Linked DNA regions of Homo sapiens: region 2 is linked to region 1. Evidence: promoter capture Hi-C in 16 types of primary human blood cells and fetal thymus (Javierre and others, 2016). All regions are on one chromosome and are shown on one strand. Each heading gives the region's core, a stretch centred on a gene start or on the middle of the fragment in contact. The rest is flanking DNA. Distances are from core to core; before and after follow the strand shown. Region 1 holds the start of MAP7D2 (MAP7 domain containing 2). Region 2 overlaps MAP3K15 (mitogen-activated protein kinase kinase kinase 15).

What was found. Contacts are between HindIII fragments. The CHiCAGO score rates a contact against its expected background, and 5 or more counts as called.
Region 2: a fragment that was not itself captured here is called in contact with the fragment with the promoter of MAP7D2 in region 1 in 1 of 17 cell types (neutrophils); the score reaches 6.6 in neutrophils.

Annotation. Positions count from the first base shown.
Region 1 is chrX:20,115,053-20,121,921 of GRCh38, reverse strand. MAP7D2 (MAP7 domain containing 2) reads left to right here and starts at 5,015. Exons shown (of 17, transcript NM_001168465.2): 1 at 5,015-5,172. The coding sequence starts at 5,043. The HindIII fragment of the contact is 4,441 bases long and covers 2,694-6,869 here.
Region 2 is chrX:19,398,637-19,405,163 of GRCh38, reverse strand. It overlaps MAP3K15 (mitogen-activated protein kinase kinase kinase 15), which reads left to right. Exons shown (of 29, transcript NM_001001671.4): 14 at 4,501-4,588. Among named protein-coding and RNA genes, the nearest start is that of PDHA1, 58 kb to the right of the region's middle. The HindIII fragment of the contact is 3,276 bases long and covers 205-3,480 here.

The DNA of each region.
Region 1 (6,869 bases), core at 3,766-6,265:
ATGTAGTTGGAAAAGGAAGATTTTAATAGTCTTTTCAGATACTTGTATGTTCTTTGATACTACACACAATCTTGACAAGAGGTGATTTCTTAAGTTGCACTGTGGAATCTAACACCAAATCAACAAACGTTTCATACTGTTACATTATAATTCATTGGTCTATTTTGAACTATGAATGGACTTTGTAACTTCACACACCTGGAAAACTTGGAAAAAACTGACAGAGGTATGATCTTCCATATGTTGACCCTTTTCATTCTACAGTATTAAGATGCCACATTTCATTAATGTCACTGTCTCTTCAGAAAAGTTCTTACTTTAGTGAAGTTGTCAAGCTAATGGTAGCAGATACTAGTTTTGTAAAACTTTTTTCATGCTGGAAAGCCCAAATTTTATCACCACCAACAAATATGGTCACTTGTTTCCCTTGAAGTGTCAGGCTAATTTTATTCGTTTTTGCAAAAATGTTGAACACAAATCCAAGTTTGAATTACCAGCTTATCAGCTTTTCTTTCAAGTAAAAATGATATTTCATGAAAGTGTCCAGTTGTTTGGAATACAAATTATCACAAATGCTTTTCCTTGAGACAACTGCTGTACATTGGTATGCAGAAGAGGTTTGTGTAGTATTCCCCACTTTGTCACATGAAATATTGAAAAGATGTGTACTCAAAGGTTAGGATGTACCAGTGTATGAGATTAATCTCTTCAGGTTAATAAATTTTTATTGCATTGTCAGAGACACTAACTTTTTTTTTGAGATGGAGTCTCCGTTGCCCAGGCTGGAGTGCAATAGTGCAATCTCAGCTCACTGACCTCTGCCTCCCGGGTTCAAGCGATTCTCATGTCTCAGCTTCCCAAGTAGCTGGGATTACAGGCATGCGCCACCACACCTGGCCAATTTTTATATTTTTAGTATGGTTTCACCATGTTGGCTAGGCCGGTCTGGAACTCCTGACCTCAAGTGATCTACTCGCCTCCACCTCCCAAAGTGTTGGGATTACAGATGTAAGCTACTGCACTCAGCCATTTATTTATTCATTCATTTATTTATTTATTTAGAGACAGGATCTTGCTCTGTTGCCCAGGGTGAGTGCAGTGACGCCATATCACAGCTCACTACAGCATCAACCTCCCTGGCTCAAGTGATCCTCCTACCTCAGCCTCCCAAGTAGTGGGGACTACAGGTGCACCACCAAGCCCGAATGTTTTGTTTTTATTTTTTAGAGATGGGGGTCCCACAGTTTTGTCCAGGCTGGTCTCTAACACCTGGATGCAAGTGCTTCTCCCACCTTGGCTTCCCAAAGTGCTGATATTACAGGTGTAAGACACTATGCCCGGCCAAAAACCTCTTTTTTGAGACAGGGTTTTGCTCTTGTTGCCCAGGCTGGGGTGCAATGGCGCGATCTTGGCTCACCGCAACCTCGGCCTCCTGGGTTCAAGTGATTCTCCTGCCTCAGCCTCCTGAGTAGCTGTGATTACAGGCATGCGCCAGCACACCCGGCTAATTTTGTATCTTTAGTAGAGATGGGGTTTCCCCATATTGGTCAGGCTGGTCTCAACTCCCGACCACAGGTGATCTGGCCGCCTCAGCCTCTCAAAGTGCTGGGACTACAGGGGTGAGCCACTGCGCCCGGCCATGCTATAGATTTTTATAGGAAGTTAGTGTAGTGGGAAAAGCACGGAAAACTCGAAAGTCATTTTTTTTAAAAGCTTAAATAGAAATTACACTATTGGATATTCTGTCATAATGTCGAAAATGTCAATTTTCTCCAAATTAACCTCTGACTTCAATATAATTACATTTAGTATTACAGCAGGCCTTGGTGGGAGATTGCAAAAACATCCTAAAATATATTCATGTGGAAATACTGAATTTCAAAGAATTCTAGAAACACTGCTAAGAGGGAATTCAACAAATAAATTGCACCCTAAGCCATAGTAGTGAATAATAGATGCAGTAACAGGAAGATCAGAATAGATAGCTCAGAAGCTATCTCACCTACTATGGAAATTAGGTACTTGATTTTTTAAAAAGTGGCTTCAAAAATTACTGGGGAAAGGATAGGTAAGCAGGTAGTGCTGACCAAACTACACTTCGGAGAGAAAAGTGGATTTGGCTCTTTACCTCACCCTATACAGAAAAATTGCTTAAGAGTAAAGCATTTTTTACTTTTTTTTTTTTTTTTTTTTTTTTTTACGTTTTTTACTATAAGCATGAGGGCAATGGGGAGTATCTTGGGACTAGGGAAGTTCGTATTAAGACTTCTTAAAATGCAAACCATAAGGTGAAAAATTTATGGATTTTATCACTTCGTAATCATTATGAGATCAGATCAAGCAAGAACCATCAATGGATGCTAAATCTAGAGAGAATTTTTGACGAAGAGTAAGTACCTGCATAGCCTTAAGGTGCCTCACCACAGTGCATTTTGCAAGAGGAAAACTACCTCTAAGGTGGAGGAACAGCCAATGGAGAGAAAATTACTGTATCCATGTGAAACTTAAGTTGGTAGTCAACTCTAGTATGTGTAACAGAACATTCATAATCTTAGGAAATACACATGGAAGTATTTGTAATGTAACTTTCAAAAACAGTTGATAAAAAATAGGGCAATATTGTAAATGGAGTAAACATGTTAATAGGATTTTGTCATAAAAATTAAGGAAAATTTTACCAATCTTAAAAAGCTTAGTTGGCTAGGATAAAATATTTGCAACATTTAAACCAGAAATTATCTAGAATACAAGAAACTCCTGGAAATCAACCAGAGTAGCCCAGTGGAAAGGTGGGCAAGGATTGAACAGGGAATTTACAGAAGGGTAAACCAGATAGAATGGCTAATCATTTTGTGTAGATTGAGAACAATGCCAAGAGAGGAAAAACAAATAGAATGATAGCTTTTATGCAGTGTCATTTATATACAATTAAAATACATGCGTATCTTCAAAACAGTATTTCAAAATTGCAGCTGCAAAGATATCAGAGGAGGTGTTTATAATTAGGGAGAGGAATGGAAAGTAAAAGGACCCCAAAAATAGAATAAAAGTAGAGAGGGATGCTACACACACATGTCCATGAGCTCAAGAGTTGGATGAATTGAACTCACCAAAGGTCCCTAAGATAAGGGAGGAGAAAGTGACAGCTCCCACGCTCTTAATTTGGCTTAATCTCAATGTGTTCGAGTTTTCATTACAGCTCAGGGTACCAGCCCCCACCTGCTCACTTTCCTACTCATTTATGTTTAAACTTCCTGGCTTTCTCACCACACTTGAACCCTACTCCCGGCACACCTTTGGGCGTGTCAGGAACACGTTCATCACAAACATTTTTTGTGCCACAAAGGGACTTTCCCAGCTTTGGCCAAGAGTACAGGTGCCCATTCCTGAGAGTTTCAGCTTCACATTAAAAAAAAAAAAATGAGACATAATTAAGGGACCATAAAATTCACCCGCTTAAAATGTACAATTCAATAGTTTTTAGTATACTTAGTTGTGCACTCATCATAATCCTAGAATATTTTCATCCAAAAAAGAAAACCTGTACCCATTATTCAGCTTCATTTTTAATCGTGTATATCTCCCCCCAGGAGTGGTAATAAAACTTTCAGGCTGGTCACCTTCCAACGAGAAAAAACATGCAGCCTGGGGCTCCATGGGAACGGGTTATCACTTGGCAGGCCTGGGTAAACAAAAGGCTTGAGCCGGCCCTGCCAAGATGTCTTTTTCAATGTTTTTGAAAAGATAATAAATGTGCATGGCAGTGGTAAAAGTGCCTACTTAGGAGGCAACCCGTTTAGCAGTTTCTTGTGTGTCTTCTCGGAGAGATCCTCCTCAGAGGTTTTTTGTTTTATTTTGCTTTTGAGACAAGGTCTCTGTCGCCCAGGCTGGAGTGCAGTGGCGTGATCACTGCAGTCTCGACCTCCCGGGCTCAAGCGATCTTCCCGCCTCAGCCTCCCAAGTAGCTGGGACCACAGATGAGTCGCCATGCCCAGCTAATTTTTAAAATTTTTTTGTAGAGACGGGGGTCTCGAACTCCTTAGCTCAATCAATCCGCCCGCGTCAGCCTCCCGAAGTGTTGGGATTACAGGCGGGAGCCACCACACCCGGCATCGCGGAGGTTTCAGTCAGCATTATTTACGCCTCAGGAGAAGAGGAACCAAATTGGCTGCGGAGTAGGGTGTCGTTGAAAGGCCTAGGTCGGCCTACGGCGCGTGCCGCTGCCTCTTAGTTGAAGATCGACCCCAATAGCTTGCTGCTGTCCCTCTCTGGGTGACCGCACGCTGAGGGTGGGGCGTCACTAAACACTGATTACCCGTGCGCCTCGAAAACTGGAACCTAACTATGCATGGAGGGCGGGTCCTCTGGCGTCTGCACAGATGTCACTGGCCCAACTGGCACCCACCTGGGGGCCTAGCCAGAAATTGTTCCCAAGGCTGCATTGCTGAGTTTGCATGCAGACACCCAGTGAGTGTAAGCGTGTGCGTGCTGAGTGAGCACGTGTGTGCGCGTTATGTGCTCTGTGTTCACACATTGAGTGAGGATGTGTGTGCACGGTGTCTGAGAAACTGCACCCTACATCTACACACGCTTTGAGTGTGTATCTGCTACTGTGAGAAGATGCATTTACGCTGGGTGTGCACGTTGTGTGTGCATGTTGCATGTAAGCATCGTATGAAGAACTGTGTGCGTACGCACGCCTTCTGTGTGTGCACTGTGTACAGCAGCGTGTAAGGACGCGTGCACGCCCGTACGCGCTGTGTGAGGACTGTTGTGCACATTGCATGCACACGCTACAAGCGCGCGCCGCGTGAGAACCGGTGCGCCTATCGCACGTGCACGCCCTGCGTGCGCTGTGCGTGGAAGCGGTGCGCCTATCGCACGTGCACGCCTTGCGTGCGCTGTGCGTGGTAACCGGTGCGCTTATCGCACGTGCACGCCCTGCGCGCGTGCTGCGTGAGGACGCGTGCGCATGCGGACGCGCGCGGGTTCGGTGCGGCGCGGCGGGCTTGGCAGTGCGCCTGTGCGGCCGGCGCATCCCGATGGAGCGCGGCGGCGGCGGCTCCGGGACGGGATCCCGGCCTGAGGGGACTGCGCGGGGAACCTCTCTCCCAGGGAAGATCGCAGAACCGGGCGCGGTGCGGACCTCTCAGCCCAACTACCGGCCTCAAGGTATTATCCCCAGAGTGTGGCGGGCGCCCGAGGGCTTCGGGTTCCTGTGGGGGGGCGGGCCCGGCGGCCCAGGGCAAAGGTCCTCGAGCGTGGGGGGAAGGGGCACGGCGCAGAGCTGAGATAAACGCCCTTTCCCTGGCCCAGGATCGTCCGGACGTGCATCCAAGGGCCGCACCCCTCTCTGTGCGAGTGGCGGGGTTCTTTCTTGGGGCGACCTGGGTGAGTGGGTACACATGGGGGGTGGCTTAGGGTGGGCGGCAGGTGTGTTTGGGATGGAGGTGCCTGAGGGGGTGCTGCGGGTCCAGTCCCCGTCCTCGAGGAGCAGCCGGCATGGGGGTCGTTAGGATAAACCGAGCGGGGTTCTGGGGTTGCCCCGGCCTCCGCGCGCGCTCTCTCTGCGTTCTGGGAAACGCGCGCGAGCGCCGCTGCAGCCCGCGGCGAAGGTGGCCCAGCTTCGCGCCTCTTGGCGTTTCCAGGGGGCAAAATCGGCGTGTCACCCATTGGCAGAGGCAGATTCGCCCGGGCGGCCAGGCGTCTGCCCCGGACCGGGTGCTCCTCCCGCCCGGATGCGCTCCCTGTCTTGGGAACGCTGCTCAGGTGGCCGGGCCGCGGCCCTCAATCGAGGCAGCGGGGCAAACAAGGCTCTCAGCCCTCGAGGCTGCCGATGCTGGGAGCCATGGAGGGCTGGTCCCTGGCTGCCCAGAAGCCAGCGAGGCAGCGGAGGAGACTGTGAGGACATTTGGCAGGATTTTAGATAAGCAGGTCTGATGCTAACGTTCTGTAAAGTGGTTGCAGGTAGTGCGGGGGTGTAAGCAGCATGGAAACCGATTTCATGCTGTTTTTCCTGACAACAACTTTTTTATTTTTAGTTAATAAGGCAGGCTATTTTTAAAACATTTTTTATTGCAGTCTAATATGCATTTAAAAAACCACACAAAACTATAATTCGATGAATTATCACATAGTGAAGATGGGAGTATTTTATATACGATGGGCCAAGAAAAGGAAAGAAATCAAGAGAAATCTTCTTAAAACACGCTTTTTCACTGGGGTTGAGGGGGCGAGGTAGTATTTTCTGACTGGGCCTTCAGTTGCATCATTCTTAGGAGGAGGAGATAGCTTAAATCATTTCCAGTTTGTATTTTTCATTATGCTATTTTAAAGGCAGAATTCATTAACTGTCACAGGATAACGTTATAACTACCTTTGAAATGTGTGCTTTTGTTTTTATCCTTTTTGCTTGAAACACTCAAGCTGCATCTGCTAGGGAAGAACCTGGAAACTACCCACCAGAACGACCCTCCGTGGCAGAGGCGACCTTGTATAATAAAACACTGAAAAGGAGAGGTTGTTTCAGTTTGCATTTTTATTTGGTTGAGAGCTTAAATAATAGTTTGTTTCGATGTTCTGTTGTACTCATGAGAGGTGGGGAGGGGCGGTATGATTGGGTTTTCAGTGTATCTTGGATTTTATTTGAAGGAACTTAAGGGGTTTTTTTTTTTTTTTTTTTAATGGAAACAAAATTGGGGAAGGGGAGGAGGTACTTTTGCGGGGGAGATTCTTAATAAGTTCTGTTTGGAAACTATTGTAGAATCATTTAATGCACTCTTCTGATATTAAGATTAGCTTAAGGATATCTTCCTTCATTTGAAATTGGAAATATAGAAAAATATGTGTGAAGGTTTAAAATGTGAAAT
Region 2 (6,527 bases), core at 593-3,092, 710 kb after region 1:
TATACATATATATGTGATATATTTTTTCTCTATGTAAGTTCTTTATCAGATATGATTTGCAAATGCTTTTTCCCATCCTGTAGGTTGTCTTTTCACTCTCTCGATGGTATCACTTGCAGCACGAAAGTTTTTAATTTGGATGAAGTACAACTTACCTATTTATTTCTTTTGTCATTTGTGCCTTTGGCTCTTGTCTTAGAAGCTTTGTCTAGCCTGAGGTGTTCTATGGTTTTTATGTTTTCTTCCAAGAGTTTTATAGTTTTAACTTTTATATGTTTAGGTTTTTGACCCATTTTGAATTCATTTTTGGATGTGGTGTAAGGTAGGGGTTCCAACTTTATTCTTTAACGTGGATATGTGGTTGTCCTAGCACCATTTGTTGAAAAGACTATTCTTGAAAAGACTATTCTTTCCCTGATTGAGTGGTCTTGGTACTCTTTTTGGAAATCAGTTGACCACAAATGTAGGAGTTTATTTCTGGACTCTCAATTCCGTTCCATTGTTTTGTATGTCTATTCTTAATGCAAGCACCATGCTTTCTCTATTACTGTAGCTTTGTAGTAAGTTGTAAAATCAGGAAATGTGAGCCCTCCAACTTCGTTCTTGTTTTTCAAGATTGTTTTGGTTATTGTGGATGCTTGCATTTCCACGTAAATATTAGGATCAGCTTATCAATTTCTGTAGAAAAATGGCAGCTAGGACTTTGACAGGGAATACGTTGGATATCTAGATCAATTTGGAGAGCATTGCCATATTAACCATCCTGGCTTCCAATCCATGAACACAAGATGGATTTCTATTTACTTAGGTTTTCTTGAATTTCTTTCAATGATAGTTTTGTAGTTTCAGTGTACAAATTTTGTACTTCTTTTATTAAGTACATACCTAAGGATTTTATTATTTTGATACTGGAGTTTTTTTAATTTCACTTTTGGATGTTCACTGATAATGTATTAGAAATACACTTGAGTTGTAAATGTTGATTTTGTAACTTACAACCTTGCTGAACTCATGTATTAGCTCTAATGGGTTTTATTGAATTCCTTAGGGTTTTCTATGTGCAATATCATGTCATCTGCAGATACAGTTTTAGTTTTTCCTTTCCAACCTAGATGCCTTTATTTTCCTTGCCTAATTATCCTAGCTAGACTCTCCAGCACAATGTGGAATAGAAATAGGGAGAGTAGACATCTTTATTTTGTTCCTGTTTTTAAGAAGAAAGAAGTTAGTCTTTCATCATTAAGTATGATGTTAGCAGCAGATTTTTCATAGATAACCTTTATCAGATTGAGGAAGTTCCCTTTATTCATAGTTCATTTGTATCATGTAATTTGAGAAAGTCTTAATTCATTGTGTCTCAGACAATCATTGTCACAACATATTTAAAGATTAGGCTAGGCTGGGTGTGGTGGCTGATGCCTGTAATCCTAGCACTTTGGGAGGCTGAGGAAGGAGGATTGCTTGAGTGGGCAGTTCGAGACCAGCCTGGGCGACATGGTAAAACCCCGTCTCTGCAAAAAGTACAAAAAAAAAAAAAATTAGCTCAGCATGGTGACATACACCTGTAGTCCCAGCTACTCAGGAGGCAGAAGTGGGAGGATCACCTGAGCCTGGGAGGTTGAGGCTGTGGTGAGTGGTGATCATGCCACTGCACTCCAGCCTGGGCGACAGAGCAAGATCCTGTCAAAAAAAAAAAAAAAAAAGAATAGAATAAATAGCAGACTAGGGAATCATTGGATCATAACCTTCAATTTACAGTAGAAAAAATGCTGCCAAATATAAATTGGTGTAAAAGTAATTGCAGTTTTTGCCATTAAAAACCTAATATTAAGCAGAACATCCTTTTACTACTACAAAATGTGCCCTTTTGACCCTCATTCAGTACTCAGTGCCTTTTTTTAAAAATACATTTTAATAATTTTTTTATTGATGTGTAACGTATAAACAAGTTTGTAATGTGCACTTAAGTGTACAGCTTGATAAATTTTGATACATATATACATTCTTGTACCTGCCTCCCAGATCAGCACCCCAGAAGTTGCTTTGTGCCCCTTCACAGTCATTAAACTCCCTCCAGTGATAACTGTTTTGATTTTTACCACCAATGGTTAGTTTCACCTGTTCTTGACCTACAAATAAACAGAATCATGTAGTTTGTACCCTTGTTTCTCACCTCTTTCCCTTAAAATAATATTCATAGCTGGGCACGGTGGCCCACACCTGTAATCCCAGCACTTTGGGAGGCCAAGGCAGGAGGATCGGTTGATCCCAGGAGTTCAAGACCAGCCTGGGCAACACAGGGAGACCCTCGTCTCTACAAAAAATAAAAAAATTAGCTGGGCGTGGTGGTGTGCGCCTCCAGTCCCAGCTACTTGGGAGGATGAGGTGGGAGGATTGCTTGAGCCTGTGAGGTCGAGACTGCAGTGAACCATGATCACGCCACTGCACTCCAGGCTAGGTGACAGAGTGATACCCCATCTCAAAAACAAGAAACAAAATGAAATCCAACTGTGAAGTATATATCAGTTCATTCTTTCTCTGTGTAGCATTCCGTTGTGTTCCAATTTATCTGTTCTTCTATTAATGAAGACTTGGATTGTTTCTGTTTGGGGGTTATTATGAAGAAAATGACTATGAACATTCTTATATATGCCTTTTGGTGAACATATATATTGATTTCTATTGAGTATATATCTAGGAGTGGATTACTGGATTATAGGGTAGGTTTATCTTCAGCTTTGGTTGTTGATACTGCCAAGAGTTTTCCAAAGTGGTCATGTCAATTTACACTCCCACTAGCAATGTATGAGAGTCCCAGTTGTTCCGTATTCTTAAGAACAGTTGATATCATCTTTTATTTTTTTTCTGTTGAGACAGAGTCTTGCTCTTTTGCCCAGCTGGAGTGCAGTGGCGCAGTCTTGGCTCACTGCAACCTCTGCCTCCCGGTCTCAAGCAATCTTCCTACCTCAGTCTCCTGAGTAGCTGGGACTACAGGTGTGTGCCACCACACCTGGCTAATTTAAAAAAAAAAAAAAATTGTAGAAACGGGGTTTCGGCCACGTTGCCCAGGTTGGTCTCGAACTCCTGGCCTCAAGCAGTCTTCCCGCTTCAGTCTCCCAAAGTGCTAAGATTACAGGCATGAGCCACTACACCTGGCTGATACCGTCTTTTAAATCTTAGTTGTTCTGTGAGTGCATACCATATGTCTCTTAAGAAGCCTGACGATTGGGTTATCCAGCTTTCAAAGATTAGAAGAAAAGGTAAGATGGGTTAGTTAGAAAAAAGAGCATTTTAATGGTTTATGGAAATTATCCTGAAATGTACAGTATTCCTCCTTGACATCTTAAGAGAGAATTGTGAGTAAAAATGTTCTAATGAGTCAAGATGACTTGTATCCAAATAAAAACTGCACAAGTCTAGGAAGTGGCCCACGTGGCCCAGTAGAATTTGTGAGAAAGATTTATGGGTCAATATTAAGCTTGTTCTGTGTCAGCAGAATGATGTGGCCACCTTATGCGTTTCCTCCTCACCATTCCCCTTATACAACACCCTGTATCTTACTGAGAACTAGATTGTCTGTACTTTGAGAGGCAATAGTCCCCCTATCCTTAGCATTGATTAGATCCCCTCTGAACACTGGTCTTGGGGCCAGACTTCAAGAATAATACAAGAGGCTGGGTGCGGGGGCTCATGCCTCCCAACACTTTCGGAGGCCGTGGTGGGAGAATCATTTGAGTCCAGGAGTTTGAGACCAAGCTGGGCAACATAGTGAGACCCCGTCTACAAAAAATACAAAAATTAGCCGGGCTTGGTGATGGGTGCCTGTAGTCTCAGCTGCTTGAGAGGCTGAGGTGGGAGGATTGCTTGAGCTCAGGAGGCTGGCTGAGGCTGCATTGAGCTGTGATCACATCACTGCACTCCAGCCTGGGCGACAGAGCGAGACCCTGTCTTTAAAAAAAAAAAGAAAAAGAGTAACACAGGGACGTCATCTGAAGAATTACCTGCTAGTAGAGTAACTCACACGTCCTGGGGAAAACAGTGATGGGACAGAAAGGAAAGACTTATAGGGACATGGTAAAATTATGTGCACTTCTAATGGGGTGTTAAGTAGAAAAATGGTTAATTCTAAGCAAACTGTGGATGGAACCCACATGAAAGAAGTCTTTGGTTCAGTAAAAGGGAAATATTTCTCATTAAGATCTTCCAAGAATGAGCTGTCTTTGGGAGGTAATGAGTTCTCTGTTGCTGGAGGTACTCAAGCATCAATTGGTCAACCAGTTGGTGGAGATACTATACAGAGGGGATTCAGGTATCACATTGGTAGTTGCCCTAGATTTGATAACCACTAAAGTACCACGTCAAATCAAGGAGGGGATCGATTGTTCCATGACTTGTAAAAGTTTGGTTTATATTTAAGTACAGTTTAATAAAGCTAAGTTAAAAACAAGGAATGAGAGCAGTTCTGAGTTGGCAACGTATTTGTGACACTTGCTGTTCTAGATTTTTCTCTTTGGTCAAAGAGATGATAACCAATACAGCAGGCAGTACGGTGGAGCTGGAGGGAGAGACCGATGGAGACACCTTGGAGGTGAGTCATGGACGATCTAGAATATGGAAAACATTGATTGTGTGTTCGATGCTTCAAGAAAATGTCCCATCTTTCTATAAAAATCCTCTGTTGAGTATGTTTTATGAACCTGCCAGCCATCACTGCATGGTTCCCAGAGATAATGTTGAATGTGTCTCCAGAGAAGAATCTCATTTCTTTGGGATTCTCTCAGTTAGAATGCTTAAGAAAAATTTGGCCATGGACTAGACTAAAATTTCCTTTTGTGAACAACCTATGAAAGTTTTCTCTAGGCTAATTAGTAATGTCTGTGAGACTACAAGAGAATTAGTTGGCCAACTGAGAGCAGACGTTTTATGCTTAAAATGACTTTAGTTATAGCTATGTGCATATACTATATGAAATATAACAACTTTAAAATCATTTTAAAAAGTAGGCTCATCAGCTCTTTTTAACAGCACAGTTATAGTCCACAGTTGCTAAACCATTGTACAGGTGTTTAAATCTTGCCCAGTTATTCAGATTTGCCACTCACTCAGGTTCTTCCAGTGATTACAATTTAATGAGATTTTACTGTACTTTCAGGTTAGACTGAAAGGAATTCCTTAATGTTTCTTTCAGAAAATATCAAAGGGATTCATTTTAATAATTGAGTTAACTACTAGAATTCTTAGGTCAGGACCAGAGTTTGTTGTAGAAATGAACTGAGCAATGGTGCTTTGAGGGCAGCAGGTGTGGGAATCGGAGGGAGGTGTGAGGTAAAAGTCTTCTATGGAGCAGGCTGATTGCCAGTTACATCAGACACTGATGGAGATCCTTTACTAACCATGTTTTTTTTTTTTTTTTTTTTTTTTTTTGGAAACAGAGTCTCACGCTGTTGCTGAGGCTGGAGTGGAGTGCAGTGGCGCAATCTCGCCTTACTGCAACCTCTGCCTCCTGGGTTCAAGCGATTCTCCTGCCTCAGCCTCCCATGTAGCTGGGACTACAGGCACCCGCCACCACGCCTGGCTAATTTTTGTATTTTATTTATTTAGAGATGGAGTCTTCCTCTGTTACCCAGGCTGGAGTGCAGTGGCGTGATCTTGGCTCACTGCAACCTCCACCTACCAGGTTTAAGCGATTCTCCTGCCTCAGCATCCTGAGTAGCTGGGACCACAGGCACGTGCCACCACGCCTGGCTAATTTTTTGTATTTTTAGTAGAAACGGGATTTCACCATGTTGGCCAGGCTGGTCTCGAATTCCTGACCTCAGGTGGTCTACTCGCCTCGGCCTCCCAAAGTGCTGGGATTACAGGCATGAGCCACCACGCCTGGCCTAATTTTTGTATTTTTAGTAGAGATGGGGTTTCGCTATGTTGGCCATGCTGGTCTCAGGTGGTCCTCCTGCCTGGGCCTCCCAAAGTGCTAGGATTACAAGCATGAGCCACAGTGTCCAGCCAACCCTTTAGTAATCTTAATTGTCATGAACATCCCTAGAAGTAGATGGGAAAGGACACCCACATACCCGCCGACTATTCCGTGTATAAGCTGCACTTCTGTAAGTAGAAGCAGTGGAGCATGCAAAATAACAGAAAAAATTGATTGCTGCCTCTCTGCTTTAAATAAGTGTTGCTCAGCGTACAGTCACATTTGTTTTAATCATCGAGAAGAATCAAATGCATCTGTATGTGACAGCTTTTGATGGGAAGATGGGGGAACAAAATAGTAATGCTAATTGTAAATCAAGTTTTTGTACTAGGTGTTTACTACTAGATCCGTATGCCTGAAAGAGTGGGGAAGCCCCAGCATATTTACTTTTTGTATTAAGATAATGTTAATTATATTGACCTTCAATTCCTTTCTGGGTTATTGAAAGATATTTGTTTCCTGACAACTTGATAAGGGATTATGCAGGAAGACACCTAGTTGGGTTATTCAACATGCTTAGAAGCAGTTTTAAATTGCAGCGTTAAAATGGGGA